Linked DNA regions of Homo sapiens: region 1 is linked to region 2. The links are contacts of gene promoters, found by promoter capture Hi-C in human tissues and cell types (Jung and others, 2019). All regions are on one chromosome and are shown on one strand. Each heading gives the region's core, a stretch centred on a gene start or on the middle of the fragment in contact. The rest is flanking DNA. Distances are from core to core; before and after follow the strand shown.

Region 1 (3,389 bases), core at 721-3,220, 510 kb after region 2:
GAATTGCTAAAATAAAGGAAGGTATATTTTTAAGAAATTTATGTAAATTACCAAATTACCCTTTAGAAAGCTTGTACTAATTTTTCATTCCTGCCTAAGTAGTAAATGAGGGTTCTTATTTTAGTTTCCACCTACCAACCTGGATATTATATTTTTTAATTTTCCCTATTTGATAGGTGAAAAAAAAATCTTGCCTTTTAAAAAATCTTTTAAGAAACAAGAGTCCTCCTTTGACCCCCTTCCTCTTTTTATGCTTAAATATCTTATAGTAAAAATAACAGGCATTCTGGAAACCTATTTCTAAAAGCTTTATTCTCTATCTCTAAAAAAATTACATTTTCCTAAAATAGCCAAATAACATTATAAAAAATTACAATTTATTTCTTAATAGCATCTAATGGCTGGTCCATCATAGAATCTGCCCCTCCTTCTGTTACTGAATATGTTTTATAGCAAGTCTGTCTTAACTGAGATCTAATCCAAGATCATGAGTTTCATCTAGATGTTATGTGCTTTTTTGATTTAACGTGCTGTTTTATTTTTTGTGAGATTGCACATTATTCATATTATTGGCAATTGATTTTTGGCAAATTATTCAGTAAATAGTACAGTAAACTTAATTTTGAATGTTAAAAGTTTGAAAAATATAGATAAAAACTAAGAGGAAAATAAAGTTCCATTATAATCTTACTGTGCAAAGATAATTACTGTTCATATCTTGGTATGTATCTTATTAATTTTTCTACTTGCATAGGTACATATTTACTTTGGTACTTTTTAAATAAACTGCTTTTTGTCACATATAGTGAAAATATTTTCATGCAATTCGATTTTTATTATTTTTAAAGGCTACATAGTACTATTTAATTATACAGAGATACTAAAATTTATTTGATAACCTGCTATTTTTGGATAATTGAGGGATTTGTTTTCAAAATAGAATTTATTTTTGCCAGGAGCAGTGGCTTGTACCTGTAACCCCAGCTCCGTGGGAGGCTGAGGTGAGAGGATGGCATGAGCCCAGGACCTTAAGCTATGATTGTGCCACTGCACTCCAGCCTGGGCAGTGGGACAAAACCCTGTCTCTTAAAAAGAAAGTGTTTAAGAAAATAGTAATGATAATAATTTATTTTGTGACGGCCACTTTATTGTAGTCTTTTATTGGTGCTAACATTTTTTCAATGACTTCTCTTTGGCTTTCCACATTGACAGTCTTATAATCTAAAAATAATAATGATTTTCTTTCTTCATTTCAGTATTTCTTCCTGTCATTTTTTTTCTTTATTACAGTGGTTAAAACTTCCGGAAAGAACAATGTGTGCATTCTTTTTTTTTTATTATTATACTTTAAGTTCTAGGGTACATGTGCACAACATGCAGGTTTGTTATATATGTATACATGTGCCATGTTGGTGTGCTGCACCCATTAACTCGTCATTTACATTACGTATATCTCCTAATGCTTTCCCTCCCCCCTCCCCCCACCCCACGACAGGCCCCAGTGTGTTATGTTCCCTTTCCTGTGTCCAAGAGTTCTCATTGTTCATTTCCCACCTATGAGTGAGAACATGCGGTGTTTGGTTTTTTGTCCTTGCGATAGTTTACGAGAATGATGGTTTCCAGCTTCATCCATGTCCCTACAAAGGACATGAACTCATCCTTTTTTATGGCTGCATAGTATTCCATGGTGTATATGTGCCACATTTTCTTAATCCAGTCTATCATTGATGGACATTTGGGTTGGTTCCAAGTCTTTGCTATTGTGAATAGTGCCACAATAAACATGTGTGTGCATGTATCTTTATAGCAGCATGATTTATAATCCTTTGGGTATATACCCAGTAATGGGATAGCTGGGTCAAATCGTATTTCTAGTTCTAGATCCCTGAGGAATCACCACACTGTCTTCCACAATGGTTGAACTAGTTTACAGTCCCACCAACAGTGTAAAAGTGTTCCTATTTCTCCACGTCCTCTCCAGCACCTGTTGTTTCCTGACTTTTTAATGATCGCCATTCTAACTGGTGTGAGACGGTATCTCATTGTGGTTTTGATTTGCATTTCTCTGATGGCCAGTGATGATGAGCATTTTTTCATGTGTCTTTTGGCTGCATAAATGTCTTCTTTTGAGAAGTGTCTGTTCATATCCTTCGCCCACTTTTTGATGGGGTTGTTTATTTTTTTCTTGTAAATTTGTTTGAGTTCATTGTAGATTCTGGATATTAGCCCTTTGTTGGATGAGTAGATTGCAAAAATTTTCTCCCATTCTGTAGGTTGCCTATTCATTCTGATGGTAGTTTCTTTTGCTGTGCAGAAGCTCTTTAGTTTAATTAGATCCCATTTGTCAATTTTGTCTTTTGTTGCCATTGCTTTTGGTGTTTTAGACTTGAAGTCCTTGCCCATGCCTATGTCCTGAATGGTATTGCCTAGGTTTTCTTCTAGAGTTTTTATGGTTTTAAGTCTAACATTTAAGTCTTTAATCCATCTTGAATTAATGTTTGTATAAGGTGTAAGGAAGGGATCCAGTTTCAGCTTTCTCCATATGGCTAGCCAGTTTTCCCAGCACCATTTATTAAATAGGGAATCCTTTCCCTATTTCTTGTTTTTGTCAGGCTTGTCAAAGATCAGATGGTTGTAGATGTGTGGTATTACTTCTGAGAGCTCTGTTCTGTTCCATTGATCTATATCTCTGTTTTGGTACCAGTACCATGCTGTTTTGGTTACTGTAGCCTTGTAGTATAGTTTGAAATTAGGTAGCATGATGCCTCCAGCTTTGTTCTTTTGGCTTAGGATTGACTTGGCAATATGGGCTCTTTTTTGACCCCATATGAACTTTAAAGTAGTTTTTTCCAGTTCTGTGAAGAAAGTCATTGGTAGCTTGATGGGGATGGCATTGAATCTATAAATTACTTTGGGCAGTATGGCCATTTTCATGATATTGATTCTTCCTATCCATGAGCATGGAATGTTTGTTTGTGTCCTCTTTTATTTCATTGAGCAGTGGTTTGTAGTTCTCCTTGAAGAGGTCCTTCACATCCCTTGTAAGTTGGATTCCTAGGTATTTTATTCTCTTTGAAGCAATTGTGAATGGGAGTCCACTCATGATTTGGCTCTCTGTTTGTCTGTTATTGATGTATAAGAATGCTTGTGATTTTTGTACATTGATTTTGTATCCTGAGACTTTGCTGAAGTTGCTTATCAGCTTAAGGAGATTTTGGGCTGAGACGATGGGGTTTTCTAAATATACTATCATGTCATCTGCAAAGAGGGACAATTTGACTTCCTCTTTTCCTAATTGAATACCCTTTATTTCTTTCTTTTGCCTGATTGCCCTGGCCAGAACTTCCAACACTATGTTGAATATGAATAGGAGTGGTGAGAGGGGGCAT
Region 2 (3,244 bases), core at 337-2,836:
GAGCAAGACAGGAGCTGCCAGTCTTCTTAAAGCTTAGGTCTGGAGTTGGCATAGTATCACTTCCATTGTATTCTTTGATCAAATCAGTCATAGGCCAGTCCAGGTTCAAGGGAGGAGTTTCAAAGCATATGCAGTCATTTTAGATCTGGTATATTTCTGAGATAGAGTATTTTCATGTAAATAAATATTCCTAAAGAAAACAATCTCACAAAGAAGTTACAGTCTCCTGACTTAAGTCTCATTTAAACTCAAGGAAGGCTTCAAATGCCAAAAAAAAAAAAAAGCAAAAGTTAAGAGGAATGTAATATAAAAGACACGTACAACTTTTTATGTCTTATTTACTCATTTATTGATTTATAACACAATGAACATTATAAATTGGTGTAGGTCCTCTAAAATTATGGGCAAAAATTTGTGTGATATGTCTGCTAAGACAAAACCGAGGCACAGTAACTTGCCCTTGGTCACATAAATAGCAGGTGGTGGGGCTGGAGACCTAGCATCCTGGCTTCAGAGGGAACAGTGCAGTGAGGCCCTGTTAATAAGTAACAGTCTGTCTGTAAATTCGGGATAAGAGTAGTCAGTGTCATCATGGGGATAAAATGAGCTAGGCTAGTCCAGAGCTGCACGTACAACAATAGGCGTTTAATAAATACAAGCTGTCAATGCTCAGCCTCTGTTGTATTCCAGGCTGTTCTATCTTTCGCCATAGAAATGTTGGTGTCATAAAGCGCAAGACCCAACAGGGGGTGGATGGGTGAGAATTTCAAAAGTGTAGCTAGAGCCAAAGCTGGAGATACTGCTTTCTCCATTGAACTCTTTATGGTCTAATCTTTCTCTTGAAATCGTACGCAAATGTTTCATTGTATTCCGTGATTCAATTGCTAATCTATTCATATACAACTGGTTTACCCCAAAGCTTTCGGTATCTTTTCTTTTTTTTGAGGCGGAGTTTCGCTCTGTCGCCCAGGCTAAAGGGCAGTAGCTCGATCTCGGCTCACTGCACCACTGCCTCCTGGGTTCAAGCAATTCTCCTGTCTCAGTCTCCCGAGTAGCTGGGACTACAGGCACACGTCACCACCCCCTGGCTAATTTTTGTATTTTTAGTAGAGACGGGGTTTCACCACATTGGTCAGGTGGTCTCGAACTCCTGACCTCAGGTGACCCACCCGCCTCGGCCTCCCAAAGTGCTGGGATTAGAGGGGTGAGCCACCGCGTCCGGCCTCTTGATGAAACCTTATTACAGAATAGATATTTATACATAATATGTAAAACGCACAGCTAAAACATTTATCTTACTAAAGTTGGTAGTAAAAACTTTTCAAAGTTACTATAGGGAAGTGCATTGTCCAGACGTGTAACCGGGAGGTACTTGGGTACCCCGCCTGCCAAGGAAACCAATATCGGATCCCCCTACTTTAGCGCCCCCGCCAAAAACCGAGCTCACACCAAAGCACCGTGGTTCCTCTCGATGTCAGCGGCCCGCCTGCCCTCGGGGCAGCACCTGGGCAGGCGTCGCACCTCCCGCCTCTGGGCGGGACGGAAGCAAAGCTCGCGCCTCCTGACGTCATCACCGCGCGCCACTGTCTTCGCCTTCTTGCACTTCGCGGGAGAAGTTGTTGGCGCGAATGGATCCTGAGCCTCGATAACAGATTCCTCAACCGGCCCACCCGCCAGCCAGCCAGCGCCTTCATCCTGGGGCTGCGATGGTGAGCCGCTGGGGGAGGCCGTGCGGCTCGGGGTCTGGGGGGGCTTTGCAGGCCTGGTGTGGACCGGGCACTCCTGGTATGCAGGGTGGGGGAGGATGGCGGTGGGTGGTTCCGGAGGCTAGCAAAGGCAGAGAAGGGGCCGCACACCGGGCACTGGACGCAAAACTTTCATTGCATCGCGGGCTCTGGCTCTGGGCGGCAGCCAGCGCGCAGGGATTTTGTTGCTACGTGTACTTGCACTTTCCCCCCGCCCCCCACTCTTGGGGGAAGGGAGAAAGGAAGAGAGGAAGGATGGTGGTTTTGGGACGCATTGGTAAAGTTATTTTCTTGTTCGGCGTTGCCCGAACCTCAGTTTGAGTACTGCCTAAAGCGTGGATTTCAAGCTTTGGGTCACGAGGGAGAAGAATGTAACAAACTTTTCTTTCTTAGGGAATATGTTGTGTAGGGCCTTAAACTTTTATCATTAACAGCTCAGCTCGTCTCATCTCCGCTCGTCATTAACGATCACCTGAGCGGTGTTGAGACCGAGGGCATGGAGAGGATATTTTATTTTGTTTAGATGAGTTCATAGGAGTCAAAAGGATAACATGGCTTACTAGGAAAAAGAAGTACAGCGAATAGAAACAGATGCAAGACATTTGACAGCTGTCATCCTCTTACCACCTGATGTTTAAAATCTGAAAAAAACCCAAGCCTCACTGCATAATTCTGGATAAAATGTTCAAACAAATTGAAAGTGAAATGATTATGCAGCCAGCAAAGCAGACATTCCTGATGGTATGGCAATGGATATGGCTCTGTGTTTGAAATATTTTTAAAGGACCATTTAAAATGTTCATTAAGCTAGAAGATACTTAACAATCCGATATAATTTTTTTCAATCATTGGTCAACGTGTCACAGTGACAACATTCTGGGGGGGGGCGGTGAAAATTTTATGCCACACTGGGAAACGTTGCAGGCCTTTGTGTTTCTTCTCAAAAAAGGGCAACAGTAATGATAGTAGCTACCTTGTACCAAGCATCTTCTTTAGGTCAATATGTGAACTGTTGGTTTTCCATGGTTTTTTTTTTTTTTTTTTTTTTTCATTTCAACCCACATCGATGCAGTTTTACAGATGGTGCAAGCACCTTTTTGGAATTTAAACAGTGTATCATATAACTAGTAGGTGGTTGAACTAGAATTAGAATCTTGGTGTTTCTGACCACCATGTTATACTACTTCCCTATAATGATCATCATTACATTTTGGAGGCCAAAGCACTGTGGTATTTTGGAAGCTTGAGACTTGGAGTCTTGAAGATGAAGAACGTGGTAATATTTTAGTTTAATGGTTTATATATTAATTTATAGTTATATTACTATGTTAGTATAGTCTAGTTTAATAGTTACGTGGTCTTGGGCAAGTAAATAGCTTAAGTTTAATCTCTTTAAGCCTCTGTTTCCTTATCTGTAAAAGAGGGGAAAATAATAGCTGCCATAGTGATTGTTTTGGGGATTAAGCAAGATGTATAGGTAAAGCTTCCGTTCTGGTTCT

The links. Contacts are between HindIII fragments. The study calls those that stand out against the background at their distance.
Region 1: a contact is called between a fragment that was not itself captured here and the fragment with the promoter of RFC1 in region 2, in 1 of the 25 tissues and cell types used here (hippocampus).

What each region holds. Positions count from the first base shown.
Region 1 is chr4:38,851,330-38,854,718 of GRCh38, reverse strand. The region is part of intron 1 of TLR6 (toll like receptor 6); the gene reads left to right. Among named protein-coding and RNA genes, the nearest start is that of TLR6, 3.8 kb to the left of the region's middle. The HindIII fragment of the contact is 5,296 bases long and covers 1-3,389 here.
Region 2 is chr4:39,364,704-39,367,947 of GRCh38, reverse strand. RFC1 (replication factor C subunit 1) reads left to right here and starts at 1,586. Exons shown (of 25, transcript NM_002913.5): 1 at 1,586-1,709. The coding sequence starts at 1,707. RefSeq lists an enhancer at 1,545-1,664. The HindIII fragment of the contact is 2,064 bases long and covers 477-2,540 here.